4 separate regions of the Homo sapiens genome follow, and all the other regions are linked to region 3. The links are contacts of gene promoters, found by promoter capture Hi-C in blood cells and fetal thymus (Javierre and others, 2016). All regions are on one chromosome and are shown on one strand. The core of a region is centred on a gene start or on the middle of the fragment in contact, and the rest is flanking DNA. Distances in the headings are between cores, read along the strand shown. Region 1 overlaps DLEU1 (deleted in lymphocytic leukemia 1). Region 2 overlaps DLEU1 (deleted in lymphocytic leukemia 1). Region 3 holds the start of DLEU7 (deleted in lymphocytic leukemia 7). Region 4 overlaps DLEU2 (deleted in lymphocytic leukemia 2).

Evidence for each region. The method cuts DNA at HindIII sites, captures the fragments that hold promoters and counts their contacts. A CHiCAGO score of 5 or more calls a contact.
Region 1: a fragment that was not itself captured here is called in contact with the fragment with the promoter of DLEU7 in region 3 in 1 of 17 cell types (total CD8 T cells); the score reaches 6.4 in total CD8 T cells.
Region 2: a fragment that was not itself captured here is called in contact with the fragment with the promoter of DLEU7 in region 3 in 3 of 17 cell types (naive B cells, total CD8 T cells and total B cells); the score reaches 5.5 in naive B cells.
Region 4: a contact is called between a fragment that was not itself captured here and the fragment with the promoter of DLEU7 in region 3, in 1 of 17 cell types (fetal thymus). The highest score is 5.5, in fetal thymus.

What each region holds. Positions count from the first base shown.
Region 1 is chr13:50,156,105-50,162,331 of GRCh38, reverse strand. All of the region lies in intron 2 of DLEU1 (deleted in lymphocytic leukemia 1), which reads right to left. Among named protein-coding and RNA genes, the nearest start is that of DLEU2, 34 kb to the right of the region's middle. The HindIII fragment of the contact is 4,139 bases long and covers 1-3,847 here.
Region 2 is chr13:50,189,003-50,196,051 of GRCh38, reverse strand. All of the region lies in intron 2 of DLEU1 (deleted in lymphocytic leukemia 1), which reads right to left. Among named protein-coding and RNA genes, the nearest start is that of DLEU2, 67 kb to the right of the region's middle. The HindIII fragment of the contact is 223 bases long and covers 5,044-5,266 here.
Region 3 is chr13:50,841,867-50,848,475 of GRCh38, reverse strand. It overlaps DLEU7 (deleted in lymphocytic leukemia 7), which reads left to right and starts at 4,784. Exons shown (of 2, transcript NM_001306135.2): 1 at 4,784-5,288. The coding sequence starts at 4,830. The region is part of intron 4 of DLEU7-AS1 (DLEU7 antisense RNA 1); the gene reads right to left. RefSeq lists an enhancer at 4,928-5,854. The HindIII fragment of the contact is 9,888 bases long and covers 1-6,609 here.
Region 4 is chr13:50,117,257-50,123,650 of GRCh38, reverse strand. All of the region lies in intron 1 of DLEU2 (deleted in lymphocytic leukemia 2), which reads left to right. All of the region lies in intron 2 of DLEU1 (deleted in lymphocytic leukemia 1), which reads right to left. Among named protein-coding and RNA genes, the nearest start is that of DLEU2, 5.1 kb to the left of the region's middle. RefSeq lists an enhancer at 1,306-1,831. The HindIII fragment of the contact is 7,720 bases long and covers 1-6,394 here.

The DNA of each region.
Region 1 (6,227 bases), core at 529-3,028, 680 kb after region 3:
TTCAAACAGAAGACATGACAGCTTTTGAAGTGTACCTACAGCATAAGGTGGGAAGGCCATGGACTTTGGGTTTAGCTCACGGCTTGTACACGACAGCAGTATGATTTGAGACAGATGGCTGGGCCCCTTTCCTCATCCTAAGGATAAGAGTAACACTCACCTCAGAGGTATTGCAACAGCTGAATGAGTCGTGGATGTAAAAGGCTAGCAGTTAAAAGATGTTCAAGAATTTGTATTACTTTCCCTTCCTCTCAAGCTCCTTGGAAGCAGAGGCCATACCTTTTTTTTTTTTTTCCGCACACCCAGCCCTTAGCAAATATCTGTGAAATAAACTCTGCCGTGTCCAGTGTTGGTGACAGCTGATGTGGTGTTTTCAAAGCAATACTAGCAACATTATGCCCGCAACATTAAAATTCTCATTTCAACAGATTGCTTGCATGAAATATCCCAAATGACAATGCAAACAGAGTAGGAAATAGGTGGGAAAAGAACTTTAAAATGTATTAAACCATCGCTTCCAGCATCTCTTTTATTTAAAAAAAAAAAAAGAAAAGAAAAGAATTTAAGCCAATGGAATGTAGGTGAAACAGTAATTAAGTTACCGAACAAACATTTTAAGCAGCTTCATGACCCTGCAAGAGGCATGAGTGGCTAGTGGGCCAGGATTACATCTGACCCAGTAAGGTGGTCCAATGGGGCCAGACTTCTAGGCTTCCAGGCCAGCTTCTAGCACACTAACCCAAGCATCAAAATGCTGGAGCCAGCCCCCAGCCTTAAATGAAGGCAACACTAATATAAGAAATAGGGTTCGGCTTACAGATATATGTTTTGGCAAGAATTGGTCCACTTCTCTTCATTTCCACTTCAACCATCCTAGTCTAAGCCACCATTATCTGTAGCCTGGAATTCTGCAATAGCTTCTCTAACTGATCTCCTGCTCCTGACCTTGACCTCTATCATCCATTCTCATACTGCAGCCAGAGATAGCTTTTAAAAACACAAATCAGACCATGTCAGTCCCCTGGCCTCCCACAGTTCTTAGAATCAAAACCAAATTCTTCATTATGGTCTGGAAGGCCTAACGGAATCTGGCCTCTGCTTATCTCTTTATTTAGAGAATAAATGAGCAAATGAATGCATGAGAGTGATACAGCAATGCTCCACCTATCTTGGATGAAGCCCAGAATGTCTTGCATAAGAGGGGTGACTGCTACTGCTGTCATTTAACCTTTTTGGAATGTCTTGAGCACTCCGGGCTGTGTACAAAACACAATGATAATTCAATCCCTCAATCCCAGTTTTGTACACTGGGCTGTGTACAAAACACAAAGATAATTCAATACATTTCAAGAGCTGTATTCCAAGAGGTTGTTTTCCAAACATGGAAAGAAGAGAAGGGTCTTGCTTGGCAACACTTATTTCATTCTCTTTTTACTTCTTCAGACTTAGACAGTGGTGTGCAAAGAGCCATGAACAACTGTGAGGAAAAAAAAAAAAACTAGGAATACTAGAAAAAAGTAGATGTATGACTAGGAGGAGGGCGGAGAGAGAAATCAGTAAAAAGATAAGGAATGGGGCATGGGGGTGAGAGAAGGGAAGAAGCAATGAGGAGGAAAGGGAGAATCTATATATGACTTTCTGTCTTCTGTGGCAGCCATTTGACTGGGACTTATCCAAAAAAACAGAAATCAAGGTAAGCCTTTGGGCCTTGGAAGACCTATGACTATCTAGGAATGGAATTTAGTAGCTAGAAGACTACATACGTACACTTGGCTCTCTGAGCGGATGGATGAACAGAAGGCAAGAGTTATGGTTGGAAAATATTCCACCATGACTGTTTTCATTCACCTCCATTTCTGAAAATAATTTTCCCATCAGTCCTCAAGTTTCCGTAGACACTGACTGTACATGAACAACATTGCATAAGGAAGTAAGAGATGGGTAAGACTCCTTCCATTCTCCCTATTCCCCTTCTTACAGAGTTTTGGAGTCATCCACCAATAAAGTAAGAGAAGCAAGCTACAGGAATTTTAGCTCTTTAAATAACCCTGCTGTTCCTTCCTTTTTCTAAACTTCTAAAGCATTTATGTGTCATATACTGTCTTTTCTCATTATTTAACTGGTTCAAGTGCCTTATGTGTCTTAATAAATTATAAGTTCCTTGAGGGTAGAAACCATGTATTATTTCTTTCATTTGCATCCCCCACAGTGCTCAGCACAGGATCAGAAACATCAAAAACATTCAGGAAACACTCACTGGTCTAAATATGATCAAGAGCTTTATGGGATTGCCAGTTTATTTATTTTCAATTTTAAAATTTGTCTTTATTGCCCCTCCCAAAAAATCCTCTCTCAAGGATATGAAAATTTGTATCCTGACATTAGGGAAGAAACTGAGAAAGAATTACAGTTGAAATGTCAACAATAAATTCATAAATGGATGCACTCTACTTCCTCATCTGAATAGATGGTCTACCACGCCAAAAAACATCCTGATACCTCATGATGTGAGCAGTACTAATAATAGTTTATCCTGTTGCCATGTAAACACTGAGGAGCTAGCCCATTAATAAATGTGCTGGAAATACTGATCCTGTTCTAAAAATATCACTTCCTTTTCTCTTCAAGAAGCAATTTTCCAGGTTAATACAAATATGCAAGGAGAAGTGCTGAAGTTCTTCAGGGCCACCTGGAACTCTTGTAGATCCATTAGCTGGATGTCCCAAGTTCTTCTCACACTGTGAGAACTGGACTGAGCTGTCACTGCCATTGCCGACTTACTAAACCCTCCAAAAATGCAGCAGAGTCTGAGGTCGTGATGACCACTCCTTCATGGATCCATGGCACAAATCATGAAATGAGAGAATTATTTCCCTTGAGTTTGAACTTGGCCTCAGAACTTCTCTTGAACCCCTTGACACCCTCAAGCAGCCTTGATCAAGCAGAATAAAGACTTCACAGGAAGTCTTTTCCCCATACCTGAGCTAAGGCCTTCTGATCTCCCATAAAGAGCTACTGTGAAGATCAAACTCCAAATTAGGCTGTGAAATGACCTATATTTGTCTTCTGTGACCCTTAAGCTCTCTTAACAAGAGTTATCCCCCTTGTTTCTAAACTGCCAAAGTTTCATGCTGTATGTCTTCCCCTGGCCTACCTCCCATGAATGTTCTCAGGATCTTTCTTCCTCCAACCTGGTTCTCTGTTAAGACCCTTCTTTCTTAGTTCCAAAGATAACTGCTCATTTAGGCTGACAAACTCACCAAATGTGCAAATGCTCCACAGGAACATATTTGCATTTTTGAAAGTCCCTTCTGGAAACAATGGCCGGAATGACACCAATGGGGGAAATTTCAGACCTTAATGTGAATTGGCTAGAGGAGAAATTTGGGGACCTGAAAGAGAAACTGCTCTCAGTCATATCTCCTTAATTTTCTGTCAACCCTTTTTCAACCAGTGACTGACCTGGGTCTTTTCTAGATCCATTTCAGCAAGCCTACTTAACCACCGTATAAGAACATAACCCATAAAACACCCTCAAATTCCCAACAGAAGCTAAGGTAGCTGAAAAAAGAAGTACCTGATTTCCATGGGCACATGTTAAGTGGAAAAGTTTGCTCCCTTCACCCAAAAAAAATCTTGCCTCTGCAAGCACTAGCCTGGTACCTTCCAGAAGGTGAATAAATTAACTTGCCAATACCACTTAAGGCAAATGGCTTAATGTTTTCACCAGATCTGACCAGGCCCCAACAACAAGGAGTGGGTGGAGATGAGCGTGTATTTTCATTTATTTCACGAGCCCTATTCTCTGTGGACTTGTAGTTTCTAAACCTAGGTACAAAAAAAAGCTTTAACTGCATGAGTAACTTTTGTTTTGTGGTACATTATTGTTCACTTTCAATAATGTAACTCAAAAATGACTTATAGGATTACAAGAATATGGTATAAAATTTCTAATACAATTCAATGACCCTTAAGCAAAAACATGATCACCATCAACTGAAGTTATCCTATACAATGGCAGGAAACTGTCAAGCCCAATTATGTGAAAATGCAAGAGAAATGTTTAGACAAGCTCCTCACCAAGACTTTCCATTGCTCATACAATAGAGGAGGATTAAGATCAAAACTATAATATTATATCAGTTTTATGATTATAAAATATGCTATTCAAGTTAGTTCAACGTAGCATTGTCTGTCCTAGTACATATATTAGGATAACATTATAATGTATTTCTAAGAGGCAAATCACAGAAGCCACTTACCAATCAAAATGTGTAACTCCAGGTGAAGCTAGACAAAATTATTGATACAAATTTTCTCCAGAAGAGTGATTTAGGAATGCAAAATACTCTAGACACACCACCCATCCACAGTTGGTGTGTCTTGCTTTATTAGATGCAATCCATTTCCTCAGACACTTGTTCAATTGAGGTCTTGTAAAACTATTAGATTAGCATTGGGCATATAGTAAGTGCACAAAGAAATTTGTTGTTGTTGTTGTTGTTGTTGTTGTTGTTGTTGTTGTTTTGAGACGGAGTCTCGCTCTGTCACCTAGGCTGGAGTGCAGTGACGCGATCTTGGTTCACTACAAGCTCTGCCTCCCGGGTTCACGCCATTCTCCTGCCTCAGCCTCCCGAGTAGCTGGGACTACAAGGGCCTACCCCCGTGCCCAGCTAATTTTTTTTTGTATTTTTAGTAGAGACAGGGTTTCATGAAAGAATGAATGAGTGAATTGTTGGATAGACTAAGTATCTTCAATAAATGCAGAAAATGCCAGTGTAGAACCATATTACACTTTCTTCAAAAATGCTATTCTACTCTGCTTGTTAATTATCTCCTTAAGATAATTTCACTTTTTTAAATGTTTTAAGGCATTTGTTTTACTAGCAATGAATTAAATGTTAGTTAAGAATCTGCACGTCTAATCCATTTAGATATAGCATGTATTTTCTTCCTAGTTCATACATCTCATAAAATGCAAAAAAAAAGTATAATCCTGCTAGCATAAGTCATTAGCAGACAAAGATAAAAACTCATGAGCTCTGTGTTTTATTTTATCTCACATTCTGCTTCATAGTCCAACCAAGTTTCATAATGAAAATTTTTCTCAGCCGACGCCTCAAATGCTTTATTCTTCAAATACAATTGATTTGACCAATATCGCTGTGGTTTGGAAATGTTTTTCTTCCTGTTGGTCTCTGCCATGATCTCCTCTGGATATAGTTCAATTAGATGCCTTCTCACTTTTTCACAAGTTGCCTGTTATTGTAAAAGTTTGGGAAAACTTTGAAAAAGAACTATAAAACGTTTTCACTGTCAATAGAAAAAAATGGATTGCTTGAGCCAGACACAGCTCCCCATAGAGCTAACCTTTTGATCCTGGAATCCTTTCATGCGCTTAAGTCTTCACTAGCGTCAATGGGAGTGTTGTGTATGCAAGGGCAGCAGGATCAAGTTCAGTCTCTTCTTTAGTACTCTGTAGCCAAGTGGGGTAGCCAGCTGAATCTGGTTTAGTTAAAAAAAAAAAAAAAAAAAAAAAAACACAACACTTTCCTGATGCTTTGAAGTTTTTTGGGCAGTGTAATAATATCAGGATTTGTAGGACGTTATTTTGCATAATCCTTAATAAGATATTCTTATGGCTTCAAAAAGTTAGTGGGTTAAGAGAAGCAAGAACCTCCAGCACTCATAGGAAATATTTTTTTAAGTTCTGGGTAGAAATGGCTCAAAATGCATCTCGGGAAGATACATAATTATAAGACTGTCCAAATGTGTGTTCAGGCAGGAATGCACCTAAAACTATTCTTCATAGATGGATTTCTACTCTATCTTTAAAAGATAGAGATATAATATAATAATCTCTCAAAAGCTCTGATGAAAACAAAGAAGCTTGCTGGAGGATTCTACTATGTGTGTGGATTAAGTAACTCTGTGACTAATCCAACTATTTGAATCAAAACAAGGCATTCCTTTAGAATCTTTATCACTCTAACCTCACACTCACTCACTGATGAGGACTTTTTTCCAGGCAAGGTCAAAGGGCTGACCAAGGTGATTCTGCACCACCAAATAGAAAGGAGGCTGGAGAAGGGAGAAGTGCAGCGGCAGGATACAGAAGCCACAAAATCTCTCTGCTGGAAGCCAGTTCACCTTATTATTACCAAGAAACTGAGGTTCACTTTCTGGCATTTTGGCCTGAGCATTAAAATTTTAAATTAACACCATTG
Region 2 (7,049 bases), core at 3,906-6,405, 650 kb after region 3:
AGACTCAAGGGAGTAGTTTGGTCCCTTTGCCCCTTCCACCATGTGAGAATGCAGCAAGAAGGTGCAAGCCCTCACCAGACACCAAATTCTGCTGGTACTTTGATCTTGGATTTTCCAGCCTCCAGAACTATGAGAAATAAATTTCTATTCTTTATAAATTACCCAGTGTGTAATATTTTATTATAGCAGCAGGAACAGAATAAGACACTGGATGATCACCAAAGTTATTCCTGGCCCTAAACACTTATATGACCCATTAAACAGTTTGGCAACAATTTGAGAAAATGTACAAATGAGTGCTAGATGAGCAGTACAAGTGATCAAGGATTCAGGGGAAGGGATGAATACTATGAGAAGCAAGTTTAAAGGAGGTTGGGCAGGTAAAAACATTGGTGGACCTAAAAGACAGGAAAGATTTTGATAGATGTGAAAGAGAGGAAAAAGATTTCCAGGTTTGACAAGCAAAACAACAACAAAGGCATGGAGTGATTCGAGGTGCACCAGAAAGACCTCCCTGACAAAAAGATTTTCCCCATCATTTGTCAATAGATTCTGAATATTAGCTAATGGTTTTGAAGTTATTATTTGACCACAAATAAATTGCTATTTACAGTTGATAAGGATGAATGTGACCTCTGCCCTGCAGCCATTTGAAGTAATTTGTAGACTGGACACAGTGGCTCATGCCTGTAATCCCAGAACTTCGGGAGGCCGAGGCAGGAGGATCACTTGAACCCAGAAGTTCTAGACCAGCCTGGTCAACATAGTGAAGCTCTGTCCCTGCAAAAAAGAAAAAATTAGCCCAGCATGGTGGCATGTGCCCGTAGTCCCAGCTACTCAGGAGGCTAAAATGGGAGGATGGCTTGAGCCCAGGGGTTCAATGTAGTAGTGAGCTATCATTGTGCCACTGCACTCGGGCCTGGGCAGCAGAGCAAGACCCTCTCTTGGGTCTTTGGTTATTAAAAATAACCATAATAATAATAATAATCTGTAGAAGAATGTTTAATAAAAGATGTATACTAGGGTAGTAATAGTTGTTTCAAGGCAATGGATTGTAAGTGACTTTTATTATGTTTATCTGTATTTTTCTAAAAGGAATATGAATTGTTATTTGTAATGGGAAAGAATAAAAGCATGTTTTTTTTTAACTTTTAAATACAATTAAGGAGGTGGTAACATCTTAAGTCATTAATGATTAATAGTGGGAGGGACTAGGTGACAGGGCTGGTACATAGCAAAAGAAGGAGATGCCAGAGGCACTGAGAGAGCTGTTGAAAATGGAGATAGCAAAGCAGTGACAACATTATTTTCCTACCTCATACATTTGCCCATACAACATCCTATTTTAACTTCTAAAAGTCCATTTCATTCTTGCTTAGCCCCAATTTTACTTCTACCACCCAAAAGGATTCAAGGATGTTATTTAAAAGATCCCTTTTTAAGTGCTGATATACAAAGGGTAATGCAACTGAGATAAAAGCGTGGTGCCTTTTCAGTTGCTGTATATCTGCCAGTCATTCTTCACCACAGTCCCTACTCTCAGGTCTGTGGAACCCTGGAGTAGTGAGGAGTGGAAGGGTGGACAAGGTGACTCATAGTTACAAGCGTGATGGTGATAGTTTTTTATATACATTAAAATGTATTTTTAATTCATTCTCCCCTATGAATCAGGTTCTCTGCAGCCTTTTCACCAATATGGCCTCAGAGAAAGGGAAAAAGCAACTCCTCAGGAAGGAGAATGAAATAACTTAAAACTATTTTCTACCAAACAGAAGGGAAAAGAAAAGCTCATGGTGATGGGTAAGAAGACGTTAAAAAGATGGAGACATAAGCAGGAAAACATGGTTTCTTTGCCTTGGACCTAAATCTCAAATTGAGAGGTTTTAGGTGAAGGTTAAGGGAAAAGTCAAAAGTAGAGGATTTTTCTATTTAAAAATGGGCAAAATATCTTAATAGACATTTCTCAAAAGAAGACTTACAAATGGCCAACAGCTACATGAAAAAAAATGCTCAAAATCACTAATCATCAGAGAAATGAAAATCAAAACCACAATGAGATATCACTTCACACCCATTAGAATGGCTTTTATCAAAAAGACAAGAGACAAGAAATGTTGGCAAGGATGTGGAGAAAAAGAAACCCTTGTACACTGTTGGTGGAAATGTAAATTAGCATAGCCATTATGAAAACAGTATGCAGGCTCCTCAAAAAATTAAAAATAGAACTACCATATGATCCAGCAATCCCACTCCTGGGTATACATCCAAAGGAAATGAAATCAGTATGTCAAAGAGATATCTGTACTCTCATGCTAACTGCGGCATTATATAGTATTTCCATTTACAGATACAATAGACACAAATAGGCTGGGTGTGGTGGCTCAGGTCTGTCATCTCAGCACTTTGGGAGACTGAGTCTGGAAGATCACTTGAGGCCAGGAGTTCAAGACCAGTCTGGGCAACACAGTAAGACCCCAGTCTCTAAAAAAAAAATTGTTTTAATTAGCCAGGCGTGGTGGCTAGTGTCTATAGTTCCACCTACATGGGAGGCTGAGCTGGGAAGATCACTTGAGCTCAGAGCTTTGAGGCTGCAGTGAGCTATGATTGTGCCACTGCACTCCGGCCTGGGCTTCCAACCTGGGTAACAGAGCAAGACCCTGTCTCTAAAACAAACAAAAAGACATAAATAACTTCAATTGCAAGAATAATAGTAAAATGTACTTAAATAATTAAAAAGTGGTGAGTTTTGAGTACTACCTTTCTTTTTAATATTGTAAGTTTATATAACTTATCTAATAATGGTTGCATATAACAAGTGACTTGCAGAATTCCCCTAAACTTAACAATCAGCTCTGAAAAGCAAGCGTGAGCCAGTAGATCATGCTACTGCTTAAGAGCTCACACCCATTTACCACAGATATCATCTCGAAGAGGCAAGTGGAAGGAAAATTGAACAACTGAGTCATTTCCCCAAAATAAATTAACTTATCATTAATGATAAAGGTAAGTGGCTACTGCCACCTCTGCTGCCACCACTTTCAACCTCAAAGGTTCAGGAAGAGATGAAATCAGTTACCAAAACGTTACAGAAACTATTTTTTTTTATATCTGAATTTTAGTGTGTGTCAGTTAGAAATTCTGTGCCAAGTATGGAATCCTTCAATGGAGGTAGCTTATGTGGGTAGAGGTTTATTGCATTCACATGTCAAACAATAAGGCTTATTACTTCATGGTCAGAAAATAGCTGCCTCAGCTCCAGGCAATACATTTGTTTTCAAGCCAAGATGAAGGGGCAAGCAGCACAGCAGTTTCTCTGCTCTTTTATTAAGAGCACAAAAGCTTTCCCAGGAGTCTTCCTTCCCCATTCCCTTCTTCCCAGTGGACTTCTGCTGCTTAAATCTTACTGGTCAGAACAAGGTTACTCAGCCACCCCTAGCTGCAGGGAAGCTATCCTTATCCTTAATAGAAGATATTCTGATTGGCTGAAACCAGTCAAGATCCATTGCCCGGGCTGAGTACATTGCTGCCAATATATGAACAAACTCTGGGTTCTGTTAGGGAGGAAGACTTGGGTAATGGAGAATGGGCAAGCTGGCAGCAGAGTCTGGTGCAGTTTAAGTCAATATTTCTAACCCCAATTTACACAGCAGATAAAAAGTAGAAGGACTATTTTAAGTGGAAAAGAGCCAAGATTGGCATTTGCTTGCCAGAGCATAAGATGGAAATGCAGGAAGAGCCTGGGAAGTGTCTCTCATATCTAAGGCAGAATGCTACCAGGGGTACAAACGAGTAGGGCCTGGACATCTTAGCTGCTGCTGGACCTCCAGGTCCCACCGGCCATCATGCTGACTGAACAGCCACTGTAAGAACAGGAAATGGGGTACAGACAATGAAGTCCAATGTTAAAGAGGTTTCCCTGTCCAGGAAAACAAAGGAACAATAGACTCCTACGCTTAATATTTTAAGAGTTTTGTGGTGCTTTCTGAGGACCTGAGGCCCACTTGCTCTTCCCTTAGGACATAGCTCATGTTTCATAAAGCTGGGGCGAGCAGTAGGACTGAGAAGAAAAGTGAGAAGATTCCTCCTTCCCTGCCTCTAATGAACAAACCTTGGGACTAGCAAAGGTTAATTACTTGCCTGATCCAGGCTTATTCCTTGAAAAGGAGCTGAATGACTAAACATTTGTGAACATTGAGTCGCACAGCCCATCAGCAAATGGAGCCTGCCCTACTCTAACCAGGCACATGACCATCACCTGGCCAATGGACTAATTGTAGGACTGATGCTGGATTCAGAAAAAAAGCAAGTCAGAGCTGTTCAGGAGGCTACAGGGGCTGGGGGAGTGAGAATTACAACTAAACAGGACTTAAATGTAAAATTAAAAGTTCCATGTTAGCTTTTCTGAAATAAAATATAAGTCTTTTACTTGAATAAGCTGAATAAATGCAAATGATATCAGGCAGAAAAGATCTGAGATTTGTCTATCCACTGCAAAAATTACACATGTGAATTGTTTATTCTTCTAGTGAAACATATCTAATGCTTTTCCCCTCTCATAATATTAACTTGTTTAAAGAACATTTATACGATAACATCTTGAGTTCTTTGTTTTCTAGGTTTCTCAACCAAAGTTCTCTTCTTGAAGTCTTTGTGAAAAAAAAAAATTGCTGCCTCTTTAAACTAGTGCTCAGGCATGAAAATGTTTAACTAATTTCATTTTCTTGATAAAGTTTATCTGTGATCAGAATTGAGTCATACCAAAAATACTTCTATAAGATTTGACCTTTTACTTAAATCCCACATCGAGATAATATACTCAAAATGGTTATCAATAAGACCTTTGTTTTTTAAAGCACATCTAAAATAAATCACTTTTTAAAAGCAGAAAACTGTTTTCAATTAAGTCTTTTACAGGCAATCAGCTTGAAAGTTATACTTGCCCTTGTATTTTTTATGTATATAAATTATGCCCAAGAGTGCCATGATAGCAGCATTATGCTAACTATGCCTTACCTTTGTATTTACTTCTTGTCAAAATAAGCTTTACAAATTAATTGGTTTTAGAGTGCTTTATGACCAATAATGACTGCATTATACTAGTGCCAGAGTAAAAGCAATGCAAGCAGCAACTACTTTTTCTTGTTATTGAGAAACACCTAGTCTAATTAGATAAGGATAATTAATTCTTAATTTCTTCTGATGAAGAGTTTTCTTGCAGTAGAACAACTTTACCCCATTCCAACAATGTTTATCATTTAGAAAAGCTTTAAAGAGACTTCTGCTTGAGTCTCTGACCCAAGTAATCCTGTGATACCTACACAGGGCTAACTACTAGTCTTGGCCTCCTGTATGTTTTAACCACCTCACCCTTTCATCAATGAATCCTATCTGCTCTTCAGATGCTGGGAGCATACTAGATAAGTAGATAATTTTAAAAGTATCCATTCAAAAATAGGCATTTCATGCCTATAATCCCAGCATTTTGAGAGGTTGAGGCAGGAGGATTGCTTGAGCCCAGGAGTTTGAAATGCCTGGACAACACAGCAAGATCATGTCTCTGGCTTTAAAAAAAAAAAAAAAGGCATTTCTCTTATTTTTTAAGTTTCCCATTTTTCCCCATTTGCTTTCGCCCTAGATCCCATCCATGTCAGTGGCTGCTTTTATTAGTGGCAGATTTTGCATTTTCCTTAGAGATTTACTAAGAATATCCTAGAGGAGCAAAATTCAGAACTAAACAAGAAAAAAAGAACAAAATCCAGGAATACAATAATTATATATATATTTTAATCTAAATTACTATATAATGAGTTTGCTGCTTCTAAAATTAGTGATAAGGGGCAGTTTTTTAAAAATTAGATCAAGGTTGGAAGAGATGTTTACCCAAAGGACCTAGAGATGAGAGAAGAGTCAGCGTTTGGAAAAAGCTGAGAATCTCATTAGCCCAAAGGGGTGAGTACAAGGCAGGAAAGGAAAAGCAAAGCTGAACTTTGAGAAGTTGGATAGATAGGAGCAAAGAGCAGTCCAGGATAGGGTCTCGAACAACTAGGACACCCTTTTCCAGTCCCCAACCACATAGAGGAAGGGGAAGAAGAGAAGAACAGTGACCAAGCTGAAAGTCTGAATTGAACGCACAAAAAACAGCAATAAGAATGACCATAGACTTCAGGTAAAGCCATTCTTCCTCTCAAGTCTTTCTTTTGGACCAGTTACTGGGCCCAAGATCTCTGAGAAGTTTTGCCACAGAAGTAACATCAGTACAACATGTTAGCATCCCGGTTAACTGGATTAAGAATATTAGGAGCTACATCTCCAGCCCTCTTGGATAAGCCACCTGCAAATGAAAGAGCCCCATACCTAGAACTTGCCACCCAAAAGATATGTCCCTGTGCTGTGGCCCAAACAGCTCCACCAACTGGACGAACCTATAACTTGTTGACAGCTTTCTCTCTCTGGTTCTCAGATGAGGAATGATGATAAAACAAAACCAAAAGACATCTTACTGAGGAAGATCAGCTCCAGTGGATTTCTCTGAGACAACCCAAGTTAGATGGAGCTAATGGGAAAAAACACAGGAATTCTTTAAACTATCATTCAAGCAAAACATCTCTCCTAACTGTTCCTTTTAAAGTAGCTAGACCTGTTAGAGATTTTATTGAGTGGATATAAGCACTTTCTACAGAAACATTTTTTTTAAAGTACATCACCTTTTCATAGAACAGAGGAAGAGCTGTCACATCAGTTGCTGATGCCAAGCACAGCAATATAAAGTATATCCCCTACGAGTTAGATGAAGCAGAGGAAAGGGATCAAGAGATTAATATACCTCTTTGACAAAAGCACCCAAAATAAATAATTTTATTATTTATTGCAATTCTCTAATGCCTTATTTTTCACTGAGCTCTAAAAACATGATCATATCCATCAAGTAATACCCATATATATGCATGGGAATTCAATTGTAATTTACATGTTCCTATACTCTCCATGGATGCTGTGATGGTTAATTTTAATGTGTCAACTTGACTGGGCCATACGGTGCCTGGACATTT
Region 3 (6,609 bases), core at 3,535-6,034:
CAATATCAATAATTCTCCTTGGAAATAAACTAACTGATTACTAAGCCGAAACCAAATAACTGATTATTAAGACAGAACCAAGCACAATGATTTATATGTCCAGAAAGAAATGCATTTTGTGTTGACAAATTGCAAAGGCGCAAATGTACATCAGATGACATCTGGACTGGCAGGTGAGAGTTAACATTTTTAACTTATTTTCTTTCCCTTTACCCACTCTTGTCTATTTTTCTTCTCTAGCTTCATTAAACTTCACCAGCTTCACAAGGTCTGGGAAGGTAGTGCATATGATGTTCTGAAAGCACACCATCCTATGTAAACAATTGTTTTTGGCAATTCAGAGACTTCAGGGCGGTATTGCGTCTTTGTTTTATCCACCAAAATCAAATGTTTAGGCCAAAGTTAGAAGGGCACGTGCATTTACTTTTATAACTTGGCATATTCAAACATTACAATGGTACGTTTAAAAAAAAGAATTTGGTCTTTTTTGCTCTTTCTTTCTTTCTTGGGCCTACACCTTGTCCTAGTTCCATTGTTTTCTCTTTGACAGTACATTTTCATATCTTGGTGTATCTCTTCAGCATCTGTTTCTCCTCAATCATAATTTTCATTCACGAATAATAACTCTTTGGTCTCTTTGGACATGTTTTGTTCTGACCTCACCTATGAACTTCACCAGGGTGCGCTGAAGGTTAACAGCTCTATTTCTGGAATTCTCTTGGATCCTTTTTGAGGAAAAATGCCAAAGAATATAAACAGGGCTCAAATGTATCTGGGCTCTGCCAAGTCCTTTGAGGACAGCTCCACAGAACTGTACCTTCTGCCAGCTCCCTTCGGTTCTCATTGTGCCCGGCTTCTCCACGATTCCACATAGGAACCTGCATCTTTTGCTCATGCAGGAAAGGAAACTTTGGATTAACAGAAGTGCCAGAATATTCATTTATCTAACAACACTCTACCTTGCCCATTAACAGGTAGAAAATTGCTTCTCACTTCACTGAGCTTTCTACCCTCTTCTCTTTTCCATCCCACAGGGTGCTGAATGTTTCCAGTGCTCATTTAAAAATGCTCCCATCAGAGTTACCCAAAGAGCTTTTCCCACAATTGTTGAGACTGTAGAAAGGTTAGGTGAATGGCATAAGCACTGCTAGAAGTAGTTGGTTGGAGGGACCTTCTGGCAGTGCCTTGCCTAAGGGGCACTGGGTCACAGGGTCACTCCATGAACATGCCATCTTTCCTATAACATATGTCAGGCTATTTGCTTCAGCTGTGACTCCTTCTGTTGCAGTAGGCAGTAAATCCAATCCAAAGAGGCTTAAGCAAAAAGAGACTTCATCGGCTCGTATAACTGAAAAGCTCAGAGGTGGGGCTGACTTCCTGTGCTGCTAAATGTGGACCTCAAATGCTGCTATACAGCCACGGTTTCTCTCTATACATCTGTTGGCTTTTGTTTCATGAACGTCTTCTCTCCATGAGTGCTGGCTCATTCATAGGCGGGCTGTCCCCATCAAACTCACAAGATGGCTGCAGAGGCTCCAGAACTTGTATCTTCTCAGCTTTACTTGCACAGGGGTCACTGAAGTCAGATATTTGACAGTAGAAAGATCAGCCTCATGAAACTGGACTTGCTGTGTATTGATAAAGAGAAGCAGCCCTGGAAATCTGATATATTCTTTACCTGGAAACCCCTGCAAAATCCTCATTGTTCTCTGTTGCCATTGCTGATGCTTGGTAACAAAACCTTGCTTCATATCAAGTAGTTTTCATCCTCCCTCCACCAATTGCTTTGAGAGAGGCTAGGCTCAGCCCCAACTCCTACACTGAATTCTAGTTCACCTTAGACTCTCATGGTAGCCTCTTTCCTCTTGACTGTGATTAATTAGGCAAGAACATGTGACACAATTCTGGTCAAGGAGATGTGAGAGGAAGCCAGCTGAAGGCTTTTGAGAAGTGTTTCCTTGCTCTTGAGAAGGAATACACAGGAAAAGATGGCCTTTTCTTCTAGTTATTGTTGTCTAGACATGATGCCAGCAGCTGCTAGTAGCCATAGGAGAACTAGCCCAAAAATTAAGGACAAAGCTGATGTGCTGGGAATGGCATGGCAGAAAGAAGGAAGGAACAAAGGGCTTTGATGACACTGAGGAGCTGCTATATTAACCAACTCTGGAGCCACTCTGCCTTTGGACTTCTTGTGATGTGAGACAATAAATTATTCTTATTGATTAAACTATGTTATGTTGAGTTTTCTGGTTTAAAGGGAATTTGATCTTTTGCTGTTTCATCTCTTGGCCTACACTTCTTTTTTGGCCTGTACTCTTTGCATCTGTTGTTTTCTCTTTTACAGTGCATTCAGCTGAAAGCATCCTAAAAGATACTGTCTCATTGGCTCTAGCTGGGTCATGTGCCCATTCCTGACCATGCATGCACTGTGGGGATGTGATGTGTGATGGGACTTAGGCTAGATGATCCAGTACTCTTCTGCAGTGAGATGGGCTCATCCCATCTGACTTCACGGGCAGAGTGTGGAGGAAAAGGCATATCTACTGAGAAATGAGGGTATGATTTCTATAAAATAGTGAAATATATGTTGTGAAACAAACATATCAGATATCTAATACTTTGTCCTTTTGAATGTGCCCTTTATTACAGAATGGCCTCAAATCGTGAGTACAGTGGGTAAGAAGTAGGCTATCTGTTACTTCGTCTGGTAGCCCAGCAAACGTAACTACGGAGGTGTTTTAGACCAAAGGTAGATCTGCTATGCTATTGACTCATCTAAATAGACTATGAAAATTTTTCCTGAGTTAGGCTCTCATATCTCTAGCTTTGGAACACAAGCCATTTTGAGATCATAGCAAAACACAGTGCGACCCACAGCCAAAACAGACAAAACACTCAGTTGCCAGATGATCCAGGGCTTCCTAAGAATACTAGAAAAAGCAGGCAGCAATTTAAGCAGCATGTGCCATCCCTCAGGCCCCAAGGTTTTCTGGCACCCTTCTGTCATGCCCCCTGAGGTTCAGTTGGTCTCATGGCTCTGACTCAGTGTGGTATGTAGAAGAGTGGGGCCTCAGGTCAGCCTGTGTCTAGTGATTTCAATTCTGCTCTTGGCTGCAATTCCAACTGTCAAGAAAGTTTTGCAGTCAGCCATTTGATAGTGGAAGGGTTAGCCCATGAAACTGAATTTCCTGTGTATCTGGAAAGAGAGGCAGCCCTAGAGATCTGACATGCTCTGTGAAAATTAGGGGTTCATTTTTGCTATTGCTGGTTAGTCTCTGCTGAACCTAATATATTTCAACATTTGAAGACTTTTTTTAAAAAGAAAATTTTTTTCTTTCTATTTTTTATTATGAACTTAAGTAACTTCATGGCAAAAAAATCTAATCAACATTAAACTATTTACTTCCCTCCAAAGTAATTTCCTCTCTGTCAATGCACAGACGTGCATTTTTACTTAGTTATAATTAGTGTGAACATACTCGTTTTTGTTTAAGAAAGGTTTTCTTTACCTTGGCATTCAGATTCGTTTTCATAGGCGAAGAAAGCACTGGGAAGGAGAAGGAACCTTTGCTGGCAAGTTGGGAGGATTATATGGGGTCATACTATCCCAGGGTTAAGGAAACCTTAAAGGACCCAACATCCCTCTCCATATCTCTTCTGATGATCCTTTTGTGCTCACAGACTAACCAGTGTGGCCTTTTCACTCAAAAGCCTCTCCAGATCTGCACAGCACCAAGGGTGCAGTCTGGCTCCCAAAGGAGTAATGCAATTCCATCCTCAGGTCTGCCAGGGCCCACCTGTCTGTCGTGGGCATGCACCATTGCCCTGGCTTTACTGGGCTGTTGGGTTGTCTAGTGGTTTTCCTTGCAGAAAGCAAGCAGGAACAATGCTGCTCCGGACTGGTTTTCCATACCACTCCTCTCAAATATCTTCTATTTTCTTAAGTGTGATCACACACCCATGGTTTCCAATCTATCAAAGCATAACATTGCTAGTCGCTTTTTTCTAAGTTAAGGAAGTAGCCATGTTGGGTTTAATTAAAAACAGCAACTATTTGTACAGCTGTCCCTAAGTTCATGGCTCATAAAAGGATTAACTTCAACCTTGCTGCCTAAGTCTTTTGGGAGTGTCACAAAAAAACATTTAGGCTTTTCTGGGCAGTGCCAGGCCTGGGCCTTGAGGCTTGCTGATGCTAGTTCAGCCACCAGGCTCTCGGTGCTCAAGTGGCACCCAGCAAAGCAGAGAAGAGCAGAACTTCCAGATACACAACTCCTCCTTCTTTTGTTTGGGGGATGCAAGGCCTTGAAGGCTGCTTCAACAAGTTTCTGAAAATTCCCCTCGGGTTGGGAAAGGCACAGTCTTCCTTTTGCAAGTTTTTCTAGAGCCCTTCGTACTTTTGCCCTAGAGTGGGTCTTTTGCACCCCCACCTCCCAGACCTCAGTGGTCATTGGCAGGCATCCTTCGAAGGAGGTGGGGGCGGGGTATCCCCGCCGATGGATGCGCCCGCACAAAGCAGCACGTTTTCTCATCAAAGCCCTGGAGAGAGGGAAGAAGCAACGCTCAGCATTTCGCTGATTTTCAAGTGCACACCGAGCAGCGCTTCAGGCAGCTTTGGGTCAGAACACGCCTGATTCGGACTTCAGGCGAAGGCAGAGGCCAGCACGGGTCACCGATTCAGAGCCGGGGGCGGGGCCGACCACACACGCTGTGAGACCCAGAGGCCGAGGAGCCGCGGGTTAGAAAATGTGACCTTGGCGACCCCAACGCCCCCGCCTCCCTCGCTGCTGCTCCACCTGCACGCGGAGCGCGCCGGGCCGCCAGCGGAGGCGATGGCCAGCCCTGCGCCCTTAGTGGCCTCCATCAGCCACCAAATGGTGGCTCTGCAGACCTTGCAGCTGCTGCAGCAGGAGTGGGGCTGGGGGGACGGTCCAGTCGCCCCCGGGAACCCGCGGGACCCAGACCACGTGTCCACCGCTCCAGCCCGTCGCTCAGGCCCGCCGCGGGCCCGGCCGGGGCCCGGGCGCGAGGAGCGGGGCGGGGGCGTGGGGACCAGGAGTCGGCGGACCGCGGCGCGGGCGAACTCCCCAGAGGAGGAGGTAGTGCGAGGCGCTGAGGGGGGCGCCGAGTTGCTGCCCTTCCCCCGGGACCGCGGGCCCTGCACCCTGGCCCAGATGGCGATGCGCAGCGCGCTGGCCCGCGTGGTGGACTCGACTTCGGAGCTGGTCAGCGTGGAGCAGACGCTGCTGGGGCCCCTCCAGCAGGAGCGGTCCTTTCCCATTCACCTGAAGGTGAGTCTGGCCCCCGCCATCCCCTCTGGCGTGCAGGGTAACCTCCCATCCTCCAAGGGTGGGGCTGCTGGGATGGCGATGGGTGGATCGCAGGATCCCAAACACTGCTGCCCACTGTGATTCAGCCCCAGTGGGAGAAGGAAGGGGGCGGGGGACACTCTGGGGACTCAGCAGGAGGGGCAGGGAGCCCCAGACCCACCTGAGGCCCGCCTGGCTGGCACAACCGAGATGTGGGGACTGCCTTGCCAAAACCTCCCCCTGGAACTCCTTCCTCTCTCACATAAATCAGCTTCCTGCGCTAGAAAGGCCCTTTCCACACGTGCAGCTTGTAGGGATAGAGGACAGCTCCCCCCACCCACTTTCCAAATTAATAACGCTTCCTCCAGAGCCTTAAATACACTTACTAAGTCCCTTCTGCCTTTTGTATGATGAAATCATCTACATTTATTTAAAGTTCCTTCACATTCATGAATCACTATTATTTTTTGCATAAATCCAATTCCCCACAGAGCTAAGGGGTCTTACAGAGTCAACCTACATTCTCATAAAGTGGGGTGAGAGCTGGGTGGGTCCCGGGTGTTAAAGCGTGAATACTAAATGCTAAACTCTTGCTAAGTCACCCAGCTCATATAGGTAGGGCACATTTCCTCTTAAGGTACCAAACTGTGTTAGCCAATTTAGCCCGGGAAGGGAGCAGCTGTCTCCCAGGCTGAGTGAGATTGCGGAAATCTGGGGGTCTGGGTTTCAGTCCTGGACTTGCCATTAACTAACCTAATTGGTTTAAGGTCACGAATCTCTCTGAGACATTCTGGCTTTCAGATTTTGACCAGGAGCATTGCTGTATTTTATTTCCCTGGGGCATCTAGCAGAAGGAGTTGGGGAGGGGTGATGAGGAGAGCTTAGAATATGTCTCAAGAGTTGCTATTCTGTACAAGCCAAGGTTTGGAAAAAGTTGCTATACATTAAGTTGCACTATACACTGTAAAAGATTTATTTAAAATCAAACATAATAAAGCCTATTATATACCCAAATAGGTATTGTTTCTCTACGTAGGGGTTTCTCAATCTCTGTACTATTCACATTTTGACCTGGCTAATTCTTTGTTGTCGGGGGTTGTCCTGTGTATTAGAGGATGTTTAGCAGCATCTCTCGCCTCTACCTGTTAGATGCCAGCAGCATATTCCTCGCCGCAAGTTGATACAGCCAAAAATGTCTCCAGACACTGCCAAAGGTGGCGGGGGCGGTGGGGTGGGAGGCAAGATGAGAAGCACTCCTACACTCACTTTAGAAAGTTAGAAAATGAAGCTGCATTTCACCAAA
Region 4 (6,394 bases), core at 2,384-4,883, 720 kb after region 3:
GGTGTTAGTGTGTGAACCACGAGCAATAATTCAGGTGAAAACCGAGCAGTCCTCCCAGTAGATCGCAGTCTATCAAGAACTGCGTTGTTAGTTGCAGGATTTGTAAAATACATAACATCATATGTGGATAGGTATTAAAAAACTGAATGATGTTGAAAGTTGCTATGCAATATTCTGTAACAGGAAGGTGTGTGTGGCATTTATCTAGAATAAAAAATGTGGAGATTGTAAATTACATGTTTACAATCCAATTTCTCCCTCCCGAAAAGCACTATGAAAAAAAGGCCTTTGATTCTTCAACAGTGTATAAATGCTACACAAACAGTTTTGGCTTCACTTTATGATTTTGATTCTTTTTTCCCACCTCCACCCCAGTTTGTAAATCCAGGAGGTAGATGTTAAGAGAGAGCAATTGCCAGGTTAGCTGCAGGGAGGCAAGAGGCCAGGTCGGGCAGGGCTTTGTATATACCCTGCATGCTGAAGAATTTGGACTTTAGCCTGAGACCTACAAGTTTTGGGGGAAACACATACCTTTTGAGGAAAATAAAAAGCAATGGGCTCTTTCTCTAGGAAAAAAAAATGCGCTTACATACCTATACTAAAATTTTGCATACAATTTTAGGGGGGTTACTTGCTTTATGAGTAAATTCCTATTCTGCCTCAGGACTAAAACATAGGAAAGGGAGAGCCATGAAAGGAGTTTTGGAAATGTCATATTGAGGTGTACACTGGTTGAAGTCCTGGAGACTTGAAGATGGAATGTAAAACAGCCTGTGACCTAAGTAACAATCAATTAGGACCACCGCTGTGTACCTAGGGATAGTGGGGATAGAGAAAAGAGGAATTCAAGGAAGTAATTAAATTGGTGGAATTCTGTTGGTGGAATGGGAAAACTGGTTGGCTGTAAAGGGCAAGAGCAAGAGATACCCAGATTTCTGGTTTAGGGTGTGGACTAAAAGGAGAAGTAGGCCTCAAGTCTAGGGGAAGGAACTCTGTTTTGTCCCTGTAGAATCTGAAGTATCAGAGAACTACTGGGGGAGCAGGGGGTGTTGAAGTAGTTTGGCTCTCTGGAGTCATTAAAATGTAGGTGATAGCTAAAGCAGTGGGAGGGGCTTAGATGGACCACAAAGGGTGCCCTGTAAGAAGTGGTCTGAGGAGGGAACCCTGGGAACACCCATATTCAGGGGAAGAAGGGGAGCAGAAGGAATCTTTGAAGAACCGTGATGAGTGACTAAAGACAGAGCAGTGTCCGTAGCATATAACTGATGAATAAAATCCTGCTTCCTTGATAATAGAAACATGTTGCTGCTTTGTTCCCTTTATATGACTGAAAAAGCTGTGTTCTCTTTCAGTGAAAAAGAAACCATAATTGTCTTTCTGGAGATTTGAATTTAGAAGGACAGTGAAGATAGGAGAGGATGAAATCTTGCTTCTCCCTTTTTTTGAAACTAGAGATACCTAAGGAAGAAGAAAAGGAGAAATGGAAGAAATCAAACTTTGTCTTTCCCCTGCTCAGTCTCTAAGCCCTCAAGGAAAGGTGTTGGGATAGACTGAGTCCCCATGATGGTGTTTTTTGCACTTCAAAAGCACACTTAATCTCCAACAGTTAGTAGCAGAAGGTGCTAAACTCACAGTCTGGCTAAGGAAATAAGGAAGCGTGGAAGGAAAGGGTTTTCCTTTGCCTCTTCCATTTCCTTCCTTCCAACAGGTTAACCCGTTACAGTTAACCTGACTAGGGATTTATTGGAAGCAGTGACTTAAGTACAGAAACCACCCCAAAATTTAGTGGCTTAAAACAACATTACCTTGCCTAGTAGAGAAAACTTGTTTCTAATCCACTGGATGACAGCTGGGGCAGCTCAAAGGCTGGAGCTGGCATCATCTGAAGGCTTGTCCACTTGCTTGTCTAGTGGTTAATACTGACTGATGGCTGGGGCTATCAGCCAGAACACCTACACATGGCCTCTCCATGTGGTCTGGCTGCCTCACAACAGGGTGGCTAGTTCCACAGGTCCTAAGACTGAGAGCCAGATGGAAACTGTATCACAGAGTCTCACTCTGTCACCCAGGCTGGAGTGCAGTGGCGCGATCTCAGTTCACTGCAACCTATGCCTCCTAGGTTCAAGTGATTCTCCTGCCTCAGCATCCTGAGCAGCTGGGACTACAAGCACGTGCCACCACGCCTGGCTGATTTTTGTATTTTTAATAGAGAGGGGGTTTCACCGTGTTAGCCAGGATGGTCTCGATCTCCTGACCTTGTGATCCGCCCGCCTCGGCCTCCCAAAGTGTTTGGATTACAGGCGTGAGCCATCACACCTGGTAAAACTGTATCATTTTTTATAACCTAGTCTTAGAAGCCATGCAGCATCATATCCATCACTTCCGTTTGTTAAAAGCAAATTACTAAGGCCATATGTGTTCTGGGGAGGGGAATTAGACTCCACCTTTTAATGGTAGGAGTGTCAATTTGCAACATGTTTAAAATCACCACATGTAACTTCTGATAAATAGATTTATAAACAGTACATTTGTACATTAGAAAAGTTTAAACATAAGAAACCTAATAAATACCCTCTTTTTTATATTAGAATGAAATATAAAAACCCAAACATTTAAATGTTCCAGCAAAGCTAATCCTGAGCCAACTTGAGTAGGCAGTCTGTCTCATAATCTTCCTGCACCTTTCTTCTCCCTGTGTCCATTCCCTCCAGGTCAGGCCTCCTGTGCACACATACCCTTCTCTCCCAAACTAGGTAGGACATTCACAGTAGCTGTACCTCCACGGTGATGAAAACTTTTTTCTTTGCCCTCCATGAGTTATCCCAACTTTGGACCTCATAGGATCGCTGGCAATCAATGGCATAATGTCCTTCTCAAAATTAAAAAGCAAAATGCTATGGAGAATATTCCAGTAAGTAATTTTATAATAATAATTAAAACAAAATGACATTTCCCAAAAGGGACAATATGCTTTTAGATGTTACGATATTGACTTTATTGGGGCTTGTTTATTCATCAAAATCAGTAATTCTAAAGGAACAGTTGAGGCTTTTAAGTATTTTATAAGAGTATGCATGTTTCCTATGAAGGCGACGTAACACTTGATTATTACAATAAAAAAATGGATACTTCTCCCACCTTTATAATGCAGACTGATTTATTTTTATTTTAAACCAGCATATATAATTATTTGTTTGGTAGAGAGACTCAAGAGTTATCGCTCTAAAAAACTGAAAATACTACTTTTCATTGAATAATCAAGGTTAAATAATCTTTTCTTATAACCTAGTATCTTGTAAAATTCTCCCTAAGCTGATATTAACTTATACATCTTTGGTGTTTTTTGTTTTTTTTAAGAAATATTAAATGTGCTTCCTCTATGACTTAGAAATAGAAATAGTGCTTAGGCCATTTTAATAATTTGTACTTTCCTAAAGGCTAATCCCTCTAATTTTGGTAATTTTGCATATTTATATTTATGTTGAGTCAAAATCACACTGTAAGTTCATACTGTAGAATATGAGTTTTTAAATAAGTACGTCCAGATAAGGAGCAAATATATATTTATGAACCCTTTATTTTTTGGTGTATTACTTAATGATGTTTGAAGTAGCTTTTTTAAAAAATAAAATGAAGAAACTATACCTTTGTTTTTAAAGTTTCTCATACAGTAATGATTTAACAACAACAACAAAAAAAGGATGCAGCATTCAGGATAAACTGATAGACTTTGCTATCAGATCTAAACTGTACTTACTTCTCTGTGAGCTCATAGCTACCACGGAGGCAGCCCAAAGGAGCTTAAGTAAACACTAAAATTACATAATGCGGTTCTGAAGGAGCAACAACCCCAACCAAACTGTGCCATATAGTTTCACAGATGCTGTTTTTCTGTATGCCAGAATGCTCTCCTATCTATAGAATGACTTCACAGTAATGATAACGTGAAAGAAAATTGGAAGTGGGCCAGTCTGTCTCCAGACATTTTGAATGAAGGCAGGGTTGAGGAAATTATTTTAAAGTAATTATGCAGTGAGTTTTTTAAAACCTTATAAACTAAGCATTTAGTAGCACTTTGGAAAGTGTAGTGAAACTGGCACATGGAGAAATAAATTCAATACAGAAAATATGATACCAGGATCACATAGCTTAGGGTCTTAAAAAAAGAAAATATGATCTTGCTAGCTAATAGTAATAATGCGGCCGGGCGCGGTGGCTCACGCCTGTAATCCCAGCACTTTGGGAGGCCGAGGCGGGCGGATCACGAGGTCAGGAGATCGAGACCATCCTGGCTAACACGGTGAAACCCCGTCTCTACTAAAAATACAAAAAATTAGCCGGGCGAGGTGGCGGGCGCCTGTAGTCCCAGCTACTCGGGAGGCTGAGGCAGGAGAATGGCGTGAACCCCAGGGGGCGGAGCCTGCAGTGAGCCGAGATTGCGCCACTGCACTCCAGCCTGGGCGACAGCGAGACTCCGTCTCAAAAAAAAAAAAAAAAAAAAAAAAATAGTAATAATGCTCTGTCTACAAATACATTAAGAACTAAATGCAATCTTCTTAAGTAAAAAAACAAAGAATTACAAGTCCTTAAGGTAGTAAAGTTATTCCTATGAATATGTGAGTAAAAATTCAACTTTGCCTAATTAAATTACAGAAAGAGACCCCTCCCCCGTCAGATTGACAAAGATTGAAAATAAGTGCTGATAACCAGTGCCACTAAGAGTGCAATAAAACTTTCAGTCTTGTCTGGGCGAGGTGGCTCACGCCTGTAATCCCAGCACTTTGAGAGGCCGTGGCGGGCGGATCACGAGGACAGGAGTTTGAGACCAGCCTGGCCAACATGGTGAAACTCCATCTGTACTAAAAAAAATATAAAAATTAGCCGGGCAGGGTGGCCTGTGCCTGTAATCCCAGCTACTCGGGAGGCTGAGGCAGGAGAATCACTTGAACCCGGGAGGTGGAGGTTGCAGTGAGCCAAGATCGTGCCACTGCACTGCAGCCTGGGCAACAGAGCAACACTTGGTCTCAAAAGAAAAAAAAAAGAAAAAAAAAACTTTCAGTCTTATCTATTACCTTTCTGGGGTCTTAAAAATGTCCAATTCTTTGACACAGTAGTTGCACTAACAGGAACCAATTTGAAGGAGATAATCAGATATGAAATCACAGATTTATGCATATTCACTAGAGTATCTATACAGAGGAAACAATCTGAATATTCAGCAGTGGGAGAGTGGTTTAATAAACCATGGTGTATCAATCTAACAAAATATGTATCTATTAAAAATACTTAATGACACAAATATTAATGTTTAATATACACTAAGATTTTTAGTTTATAAAACTTTCTCATTTATTTAAAAATGCATAGGAAATGCATATATAATATATATGTAAAATGCATAGGAAAAGGGTGGAAAAAGTACACCAAAATGTACTCTGTGATTATGGTCATTTTTACCTTTGTATATTTTCTAAAATGAGCACATATTATTTTAACAATCAGGAAAAAAATCATTAAAGCTAAAAGATTTTCTTCTGAATATTTAAATCAAATGACATATTTACAACTTTACAGCACAAGGATAGTTAATAAAGTAACATAACTTATTAGTTACTTTTCATAAGTAACTTTTCATTTGGCATAGTTATAACAGTATCTGCCAGTGAATAATCTCTGCTTACTAAAATAATGTATAGGCAAATATAGAGTATTATGCAAGGGTATAATCTGAGGTTTCACATTTTGGTGGAAAAGTTGTTCGGGCAAATGTTGGTAGAATCTGTAAATTCATCTGTAAAGCTATTGTGCATTAGCTATTTTATAAATTTTACAATAGTATTTTTAAAATTTATTATTTTTAATTGTGGCAAAAGTTATAAATGGTAAATATAAATTTACCATCTTCACCATTTTTAAGGGTACAGTTCAGTAGTGTTAAGTATATTCACATTGTTGTGTATAATGCTATTTTATGGATAATGGCTATTGATTTTATAAAAATACATGCTCATTTATAAATAATTCAAACAATATAGAAAGTTACAGGAAAGTTTTTAAATCTCCTCAGATCCTAGATTTTACCATCAAAATAAATGAATATCAGTTTAGGATATATTTCTATGCATTTATACAGATAAGATCATTTTATTTAAGATGAGAACATCACAGTACTTTTTTTTTTTTTTTTTTTGAGACGAGTCTCGCTCTGTTGCCCAAGCTGGAGTGCAGTGGCGCAGTCTCGGCTCACTGCAAGCTCCCTGCTTCCCGGGTTCACACCATTCTCCTGCCTCAGTCTCCCAAGTAGCTGGGACTACAGGCGCCCGTCACCAAGCCCAGCTAATTTTTTTTTTTTTTGTATTTTTAGTAGAGACGGGGTTTCGCTGTGTTAGCCAGG